Regions from separate parts of the Homo sapiens genome. Here region 1 is linked to region 2. Evidence: promoter capture Hi-C in human tissues and cell types (Jung and others, 2019). All regions are on one chromosome and are shown on one strand. Each heading gives the region's core, a stretch centred on a gene start or on the middle of the fragment in contact. The rest is flanking DNA. Distances are from core to core; before and after follow the strand shown. Region 1 overlaps ALKBH5 (alkB homolog 5, RNA demethylase). Region 2 holds the start of SHMT1 (serine hydroxymethyltransferase 1).

The links. The method cuts DNA at HindIII sites, captures the fragments that hold promoters and counts their contacts. A contact is called where the count stands out against the background at its distance.
Region 1: a contact is called between a fragment that was not itself captured here and the fragment with the promoter of SHMT1 in region 2, in 1 of the 25 tissues and cell types used here (heart left ventricle).

The regions. Positions count from the first base shown.
Region 1 is chr17:18,188,860-18,195,142 of GRCh38, forward strand. It overlaps ALKBH5 (alkB homolog 5, RNA demethylase), which reads left to right. Exons shown (of 4, transcript NM_017758.4): 2 at 6,096-6,176. Among named protein-coding and RNA genes, the nearest start is that of ALKBH5, 8.2 kb to the left of the region's middle. The HindIII fragment of the contact is 6,402 bases long and covers 1-5,748 here.
Region 2 is chr17:18,361,833-18,365,575 of GRCh38, forward strand. It overlaps SHMT1 (serine hydroxymethyltransferase 1), which reads right to left and starts at 1,718. Exons shown (of 12, transcript NM_004169.5): 1 at 1,540-1,718. RefSeq lists a silencer at 1,343-1,812. The HindIII fragment of the contact is 16,638 bases long and covers 1-3,743 here.

The sequences.
Region 1 (6,283 bases), core at 1,298-3,797, 170 kb before region 2:
AGTTTGAGACCAACCTGGCCAACATGGTAAAACCCCATCTCTACTAAAAATACAAAAACTAGCCGGGCATGGTAGTGTGCACCTCTAATCCCAGCTACTCAGGAGGCTGAGGCAGGAGAATCACTTGAACCCGGGAGGCGGAGGTTGCAATGAGCCGAGATCGAGCCCTTGCGCTCCAGCCTGTGCTGTAGAGTGAGACTCCGTCTCAAAAAAAATAATAAAAAAAAAAATTTCAAGGCCGGGCGCGGTGGCTCACGCCTGTAATCCCAGCACTTTGGGAGGCCGAGGTGGGTGGATCACGAGGTCAGGACATCGAGACCATCCTGGCTAGCATGGTGAAACCCTGTCTCTACTAAAAATACAAAAAACAAAATTAGCTGGGTGTGGTGGCGGGCGCCTGTAGTCCCAGCTACTTGGGATGCTGAGGCGGCAGAATGGCACGAACCCGGGAGGCGGAGCTTGCAGTGAACCGAGATCATGCCACTGAACTCCAGCCTGGCAGCCTGGGCGACAGAGCAAGACTCCGTCTCAAAAAAAAGAAAAAGAAAATTCAGAGCTGGCTGGCCAGTTGGTGGATAGCCTTCACTGATACAGTGCTAGCTCTCTGGGGGATATAGGTTCATCTCTGCAAATCTCTTTCATGGGGCTAGTGGGTGTACGTGTGCCCTTTGGTGAGGCCAGCAAGGCCCCCTGGACAGGCTTGCTACCAGGAAACACAGATGGGCTTTTCTTCCTACCGCCTCCACAACAAAATCCAGAAAGTTTGACAGCAGACTTGGTTGGAGTTACAGCACCACCATTTTAACTCGTTGACTTCGGGGAAATTAAGCTTTTTGAGGCCTCAGTTTTCCTCATCTGCAAAACCAGTCTAATGATGCTATAGAGTTGTTATAGAAAGTTGAATCTTTGTCATCTATTGAATGCTTGAAATTTAGCTAAAAGTGTCTCAGGAGATGGGCTACCTTCTGTGTTTAGTACTGTCTATCTTGGTGTGTACAGAATTGGGACTTGGCAGGTTGACCTTCCCTCTGGATTCAGAAAGCCCCAGGACTTCTTATAAAGTTAGGCCATGGGTCGTCTTGGAGGCTTGGGTCTGGTAAATAATTGAGCCTGAGCTCACAATCCTGCCCCTGGGTCCAGGTGGCTGGTCTGCTGCCCCCAAAAGCCTGACCTTCTTGGTCCTGTGGGTCTGTCAGTAAGGCAGGTAGCCATAGCTGGAGAGAGACAGTCACCAGGCTGGGATCTTGGACAGTCCCTCCATCTCTGGTTCATCCTGGCCTAGGCAGGGCATGGAGTAGATGGAAAATGGTGGCCATCTTGGAAATGTGTCATAACAACTCAGTTTCCAAGACCGTCCCCTAGAGGAGAGATGTACAGTCCTGCATAGTTTCTTTAAAGAATTTTTCAGGGCCAGGTGCGGTGGCTCATGCCTGTAATCCCAGCACTTTGGGAGGCCAGGGCGGGTGGATCACCTGAGGTCAGGAATTCAAGACAAGAATGGCCAAGATGGTGAAAGCCCGTCTCTACTAAAAATACAAAAATTAGCCGGGCGTGGTGGCAGGCACCTGTAATCCCAGCTACTCGGGAGGCTGAGGCAGAGAATTGCTTGAACCCAGGAGCTAGAGGTTGCAGTGAGCCAAGATTGCGCCACTGCATTCCAGCCTAGGCAACAGAGTGGGACTCTGTTTCCGAAAAAAAAAAAAAAAAAAAAAATTTCAGACACCTCATTTAATTTGCACCTAATCTTCTGAGGAGGGGCTTGCTGTGATCTTTGTTTTGCAGAGGCAGAAACAGGTTCTAAGTGGTAGAATAGTTCAGCTCAACACACATTTCATTTAGTGTCCACTGTGCAGGGATGAGTAAGGCCTTTGAAGAGCTTTGTCTTGAAGGGAAGACACAATTTCCACAAGGCCAGATGGAATAGCAAAGAGGCATGAGAGGGTGTGGTTGAGCAATGTAGGGGGAACCCAGCCTGGGCAGTCAGGGAAAGGCCCCCAAAAGAGGAGATAGACATGTCAGCTCCTTCGAGAGTCACTCTGAGGTATAGGACTAGTGGGTGACATTTGCAACATATACTGGTCAGTGCCTCTGGGGCTGGGGCTGGGGGCTCAGCCCAGAGAGGGAGCAGGCAAGCCAGATGGCATAAGGTTATTTCCTCTTCTCCTTTCCCTGTGAAAACAAAAAAGCAGGAGGTCCTGGAACTTTTCATGCCAGCAGTAGGGCTGGACCCAAGGGCATATTAAGTTGCAAGCTGGCCGACTGAGACTTTCAGACAATTTATTTTGTAGCAAGTAGGTTCCTTAATAGTAAATAATACCCTGTGGTCTCTGCTCGACATTTTGTGAGATTGGCCAGGAGAGCTTCCCTTAATCAGGACTTTGAGCTCATGTTGCCAGAGCAGCCGGATATTCTGAGGAAAGGGTCAGTGGGCTGTGTCATAGCTGCTAGGAAGTTCTAGAAGACCAGTACTAATAAGCCTTCCAGGTTGGGTCAGTGCCAAAGTCATTTTTGTGGGCCTGTGCAGCCCTACCTCCATACTAGTTCTTCCAAGGCCTGGGCTCCGTGGCAGGAACCTGACATGGCTTATTGTTTGTTCTAGAGCCCTTTGGGGGATGGGGTCAGGGAGCATGCGGGCAGTCAAGCTTTGACAAACATCTGGATTTGCTCCAGAACTGCATTAAGAAAAGTGGTTCCTTGTTGGAGATGGGAAGTCAGGGCCCTTGGTTATGCATATAGCCAAGTCAAACAGATTGATAACACTTGTCAATGGCAGGGAAGGTTGCCTGTAGCCAGCACTGCAGATTCAGGACTTAGAAACGTGCCTCTGGGGCCGAGCATGGTGGCTCACACTTGTAATCCCAGCACTTTGGGAGGCCGAGGTGGGTGGATCACGTGTGATCAGGAGATCGAGACCAGCCTGGCCAACATGGGGAAACAGTCTTCACTAAACATACAAAAATTAGCCTGTAGTCCCAGTTACTTGGGGGTCTGAGGCAGGAGAATTGCTTGAACCTGGGACGTGGAGGTTACAGTGAGCCAAGATCATGCCACTGCACTCCAGCCTGGGCAACAGAGTGAGACTCTGTCTTTAAAAAAAAAAAAAAGTGCCTTTGAGACCTTTGACAGCTCTTTGGGAAAGTATTGTGTGTCTATATGGGACAGTCTTGCAGTCTAGACCCCCATTCCCCCAGTGTGGAATGATAAAAGCATGGGATGAGAACTAGAGTTCCTAGCTCTGGAAATGGGGCCCAGGCGGCCCCCACTACTGGCAGATCCCTGCAGGGGGAGCCCAGACCATGTCTCTTTGGCAGATGCTGAATCCAGGGCTCTGGCTTGCCCCAGGATAGTCCAGGGCCCTCTGACTTTTGTCAGAGTGCTTAGTAAAGATTGTAGGGTGTCAGGCACCCTGCATTATCTGACTTAATTCTCGCAATACCCCTGCAGGTAGGCCTCTCACCACCCCTTTCCAGGAGTGTCAACCAAGTAGTCATATAATGCTGTTTTTCTGCCTGGAAGGGAGGAGGCCCCGTTTTTAAAATCTTGTAATCTTAAAAACTTTAATCTTGTAATCTTTAAAACTGTCCCCATTTTTAAAATCTTGTAATATTAGTAGCAGCAAAAGAATAGCTAAATTATAAAGCATAACAAAATGAATACCCAAGAACCTACTGTTCTCCTTATTACAGATGAAGAAACTGTACAGGTTTTTAGGTTCAGCATGTGATTTAACAAAGGTCACAAAGCTAGTAGGAGACAAAGCTCACATTTGAACCCAGGTCTCTTCAACTCACTAACTCCTGTGTGGTACTTCTCACTGTGGGCTGATGGGTATTAATAGGTATTATGAGAGAAGGTTCTTTGGTAAGTGCTCAAAGTCAGTGGGTTCTTTTGCTGTAGTAATTCTCATGTGCTTTAAATATATTAATGCTTTTTGAAACTCTAATCAGTATTTTACAAATTGATTTCACTGTAGACATTCGTCCACTGTCTTTTTCTTTTTTTTTTTTTTTTTTTTTTTGAGACGGAGTCTCACTCTGTCACCCAGGCTGGAGTGCAGTGGCACTATCTCGGCTCACGGCAACCTCCACCTCCCAGGTTCAGCGATTCTCCTGCCTCAGCCTCTGCGATAGCTGGAATTACAGGCACCTGCCATCATGCCTGGCTTATTTTTGTATTTTTGTAGAGACGGGGTTTCACCATGTCGGCCAGACTGGTTACGAACTCCTAACCTCAGGCAACATGCCCACCTTGGCCTCCCAAAGTGCTGGGTGGGATTACAGGCGTGAGCCACCGTGCCTAGCCTGTCTACTGTCTCTTATGGGACTGGTGTTCATGGAGAAAATTTTGAAAAATTCTTGTCTAGGAGCAGCTTGAGGGAGAAGGTGGATCTATAAAATAAAGGTTTGGGCCGGGCGCGGTGGCTCACACCTGTAATCCCAGCACTTTGGGAGGCCGAGGCTGGCGGATCACGAGGTCAGGAGTTCAAGACCATCCTGACCAACATAGTGAAACCCCATCTCTACTGAAAATAACAAAAATTAGACAGGCGTGGTGGGGTGCGCCTGTAGTCCCAGCTACTTGGGAGGCTGAGGCAGGAGAATCGCTTGAACCCGGTAGGCAGAGGTTGCAGTGAGCCGAGATTGTGCCACTGCACTCCAACCTGGGTGACAGAGTGAGACTGTCTCAAAAAAAAAAAAAATTAAATAAAATAAAGGTTTGTTCTATCCCCAGCATGAGCTCAAATCAGATTTCCAAATCAGAGGTGCTTCCTTAAGGCTGAGCCTGAAGCAGTCTGGCTTTTTATCTCTTGTTGGCTCTTGCATCCAGTTATTAGAGCTGAGGTTTGGCCAGCCTGGCCATCTTGAGGGGTCCTTCCCAGGCCTGCAGTGTTTTTAATAGTTAAGTTTGTGTCTGTACAACTAGCCTTTGAGAAGGGAGCTGATCAGCAGCCATGAGAGAAGGGTTTGTGGTACAGGGCCAGGTAGGGAAACTAAGCCATACTTGTCCTACTAGGCTTGTGGCTGAGTTTCTGGGTGTGTAGAACTGCTGCAGCTCAGTAGAGTAACTTGGAGTGGGAGTATCTTGTGGCTGCCATGCTTCCAGTGATAGCATGTGAGGGGTATAGGAAGCTCAGAGCTTGCTTCCAGAGTTTCAAATTGGAATGACGCTAGCTGAGAAGAGGACAGTCATCTACCCACATTAGTTGGTCTCTGAGCGGTTTTAAAAGTCATGTAACTTGTTGAAAATAAACAGATATCTGAGTATGATGGAAATCCTTTTTTTTTGGGCGGGGGGCAGGGGGTGGGGGTCAGTGGTGGGGACAGAGTCTCGCTCTGTTGCCCAGGTGCAGTGGGCGTGATCTTGGCTCACTGCAACTTCTGCCTCCTAGGTTCAAGCGATTCTCCTGCCTCAGCCTCCCAAGTAGCTGGGATTACAGGCGCCCACCACCATGCCTGGCTAATTTTTGTATTTTTAGTAGAGATGGGGTTTCGCCATGTTGGCCAGGCTGGTCTCGAACTCCTGATTTCAGGTGATCCGCCCACCTCGGCCTCCCAAAGTGCTAGGATTACAGGCATGAGCCATCACGCCCAGCCGGAAATTCTTAAAATATTCAAACACAACTGTCTTCAAAATTTTGGATCCCCCCAAATGGAGACTTCATGTAGATATTCTATTTTGGAATGAGGCAGTCCTAGCTCTCCCTGGTGACTCAGTGCTATCAGTGGCTGCCTTGGCTTTCTCTACCTGCTAAATGGAGGGAGAATGAGGAGGAGCTACAGTGTACTCTCTGGAGTACCCTTTTAAAAAAGGGTTCCTGGCCTGTTCAGGGAGAGTCTTGCTTCCAGCCTCTGCCTTAAGTGGCCAAGGGGTCTCCTTTGTGTCATACCAGGTTTTTCCTTGAGTATTACAGTCTCTTGGCAAAAGCATCCTGGAACTTAATATGATATTCCCTTCCATGTAGATCCTTGAAACTCTCAAGTAATGGGTAGAGAGCAGCCGTAAGACCTAGGCCATGTTCCTGTCCTGTTATATCCCCCAGGAACTTTGGTTGTCTGTCTACTCTTCATGGTCACATGTTCTGTGTTTCTTTTCAGTGGATATGCTGCTGATGAAATCACTCACTGCATACGGCCTCAGGACATCAAGGAGCGCCGAGCAGTCATCATCCTCAGGAAGTAAGTGCCTTGATGTCTGACCTTCTGCCTCACCTGCAGGCCTGTCTGGAGATGTAGCTCTGGGTCCACTTAGAACTCAGCTCCTATGTATCAGTGGCATGGCAGAG
Region 2 (3,743 bases), core at 468-2,967:
ACATTCAGTAATACCTGGTAAGTCCCCCAGCCAACACAGCTCACTGCAACATCAGTCATTACAACATTGGATATTTCTGTAGAGGCACTGTTGCTCATGTGTGGCATGATCCTCAACGTCAGGGAAAAAGACCTAGTAAGTGAAGTCACCTGCAAGGTCACCAGCCTCCCCATGCCTCCAAATCTTACCTGGGCCTCTGTCACATAAGAGGATCCAGCCAAGGATCTGCTCAGGGAACTAACTTGTTGCACATCTTCTATCTCACACACATTTTGTGTTCTCTTCTTTACAGAAGAGGAAATTGAGGCCCAGGGAGCTAACTTGTCTAAAGCCATATAAGAGCCAGAATCTGAACAATGGTTTCTCTTCAGTTCCAAGGCCTTGTCCCAGGACATTGCACTAAATAAAAACACAATTACCCACTTCCGTTCCAAGTTCCCCCAAGTAATAAATTTACGTTATTTCTTTTCTTTTTTTTCTTTTCTTTCTCTCTCTTTCTTTCTTTTGAGATAGAGTCTCACTCTGTCACTCAGGCTGGAGTGCAGTGGCGTGATCTCCGCTCACTGCAACCTCCACCTCCCGGGTTCAAGCGATTCTCCTGCCTCAGCCTTCCGAGTAGCTGGGATTATAGGTGTGTGCCACCATGGGCAGCCAGGTTTTTTTGTATTTTTAGTACAGACGGGGTTTCACCATGTTGGCCAGGCTGGTCTCCAACTACTAACCTCAAGTGATCCGCCCACCTCGGCCTCCCAAAATGCTGGGATTACAGGCATGAGCCACCGCGCCCGGCCTACAATGTTATTTCTGCAAGAACCTAAACTGGTGTTTCCAGTCTATTCTCTGGGTAACTGCCCGATTGAAGGCCCGCATCTGTGCTGACCTCAGCTGGACCAAGGGTCACTTAACTCCCGGAATCTCGAAGCCAAGGCACCGGGCCAAGAACTTCACAGTGCAACATTTGTCTCCTAGAACAGGGGGTGGCAGATTGCGGGCAACAGGAAGAGCTCATTCCCCACAGGGATCTGGTGGCACGGGCCAAAAGTGGAGCGACCCTGCGCGCAGCCTTTAGGGGCGCAGGCTTTGAGAACCCGGGTTCTATTCCGGGCTCTGCCATTTAAGTTGCCTCCTTTCTCAGGGCCCCACCACCTTCCTCACCTGTAAAATGGGGGAAACAGTAGCACTTGACTTGCAGCTTTGTTGTGAAGGAGCTAGGATTGTTTAAATCGAAAATGCTCAACGAGAAAAGTGTTCAGTGGAGAGCTACTACTCACATCCCCGATAAGCCTTCGCATTCTTGCCAAAGGCCACGGGCCGCCACCCCATCATACCGAATGTGCCTGGAACTGGGGCGCTGCGGCTGGCCGCCGCCCGATCCCCAGCCCAGGCGCGACCCAAGCGCTCCCCTCCCGTCATTGCGGCTGCAGAGGGTGGGGTACGGCGGGGGACAGCGAGGACGCCGAAGCACCCCCCGGGCTCTGGGACGCCGCGGCCCTCGGACCCGAAGCCGCCCACCTACCGGAACACGGCCCGCGCACGTACCTAGCGACGCCTCCGTCCTACGCCGCCGCCGGTGCCACCAGTCCCAGACCCGCTGACCCAACGCCCCGCGCACCGCCGCGGGCCAGCCACGTGACCAGCCGCTCCAACCCCAAACCCCGAACTTGGCGCTGGACCGCTCGAGCTCAGGAAGGTGCACTCTGCGCGCCAGGCTTGGGCTTGGCCCCGCCCCCGGAGGCGCCCAATCAGAGAGCGCAGCCAAGCATGGGCCGCCACCAAACGCACCCGCGCTATTGGCTGCGGCGCAGCGGCGGGCAGGGCCTGTTTCTCCGGGGCGGGCCGGAGGCCGCGTAGTGCAGCTGCGCACCTGGGGCAGGGACCTGCAGAACTGACCCGCTTTGGCTGCAGGGCTGGTGTGTGGACCAAGATTTCCAGGAAGACTACACAGGGCCTTCCTCACTTAAGCCTGTCGCTTGGGCCGTGGGATTATGAGTGAATTTTGTTCATGGTACTACTTTTAGTTTGCAGGGTGGTCATTTAAAGTAGGACAAATGTGCGTCCAAACTGCAACATTATTACTCTGTAGGTGTATAATCCAAGAGCAGACACTTTATTATTATTATTTTTGTTATTTTTTATTTTTATTTTTTTGAGACAGGGTCTCACTCTGTCCCCCAGGTTGAAGTAGAGATGGGGGTCTAACTATGTTGCCTCCCAGGAGGCGGAGGTTGCAGTGAGTCGAGATCGCGCCACTGCACTCCAGCCTGGGGGACGGAGCGAGACAACGTCTCAAGAAGAATAAAATAAGATAAATAAAATACTGACACACAATAAGGACTCAATGAACATTACCTATTGTTAAGAATGATAAAAACCGGGGCCACATGTCAGGACCACCTGAGGCTGCGTCATAAATTTTTTTATTTGTCAAATGATAACAATAATTATTATAAGAATGATAAAAACCGGGCGCAGTGGCTCACCCCTGTAATTCCAGCACTTTGGGAGGCCGAGGCAGATGGCTTGAGCCTAGGAGTTCAAGACCAGCCTGGGCAAAATGGTGAAACCTTGTCTCTACAAATAATTTTAAAATTAGCTGGGTGTGGTGGCAGTCGCCTGTAGTCCCAGCTACTTGGGGGGCTGAATGGGAGGATCACTTGAGCCTGGGAGGCAGAGGTTGCAGTAAGCAATGATCTTGCCTCTGTACTCCAGCCTGGGCAACAGAGTGAGACCCTCATCATCTCGAAAAACAAACAAACAAAAAATACAAAAAAAACTTTTTTTTTTTTTTGAGACAGAGTCTTGCTCTGTCGCCCAGGCTGGAGTGCAGTGGCGCGATCTCGGCTCACTGCAAGCTCCACCTCCCGGGTTCACGTCATTCTCCTGCTTCAGCCTCCTGAGTAGCTGGGACTACAGGCCTCCGCCACCACGCCTGGCTAATTTTTTTTTATTTTTGAGACGGAGTCTCCCTCTCTTGCCCAGGCTGGAGTGCTGTGGCGCGATCTAGGCCCACTGCGAGCTCTGCCTCCTGGGTTCATGCCATTCTCCTGCCTCAGCCTCCCGAGTAGCTGGGACTACAGGAGCCCACCACCACGCCTGGCTAATTTTTTGTATTTTCAGTAGAGACAGGGTTTCACCATGTTAGCCAGGATGGTCTTGATCTCCTGACCTTGTGATCCACCTGCCTCAGCCTGCCAAAGTGCTAGGATTACAGGCGTGAGCCACCACACCCGGCTAATTTTTGTATGTTTAGTAGAGATAGGGTTTCACCATATTGGCTAGGCTGGTCTTGAACTCCTGATCTCAAGTGATCCATCCTCCTCGGCCTCCCAAAGTGCTGGGATAACAGGCAAGAGCCACTGCGCCTGGCCAACATAGTGAGTGTTTTTGTTTTTTGTTTTTGTTTTATTTATTTATTTATTTGAGATGGAGTCTCGCTCTGTCACCCAGGCTGGAGTGCAGTGATGCGATCTTGGCTCCCTGCAACCTCTGCCTCTCTGGTTCAAGCAATTCTCCTGCATCGGCTTCCCGAGTAGCTGGGACTACAGGCGTGCACCACCATGCCCAGCTAATTGTTCTTTTTGTTTGTTTGTTTGAGACGGAGTCTCGCTCTGTCGCCCAGGCATGAGTGCAGTGGCTCGATCTTCGCTCACTGCAATCTCCACCTCCCAGGTTCACGCCGTTCTCCTGCCTCAGCCTCCCGAGTAGCTGGGACTACAGGCGCCCGCCACCATGTCCGGCTAATT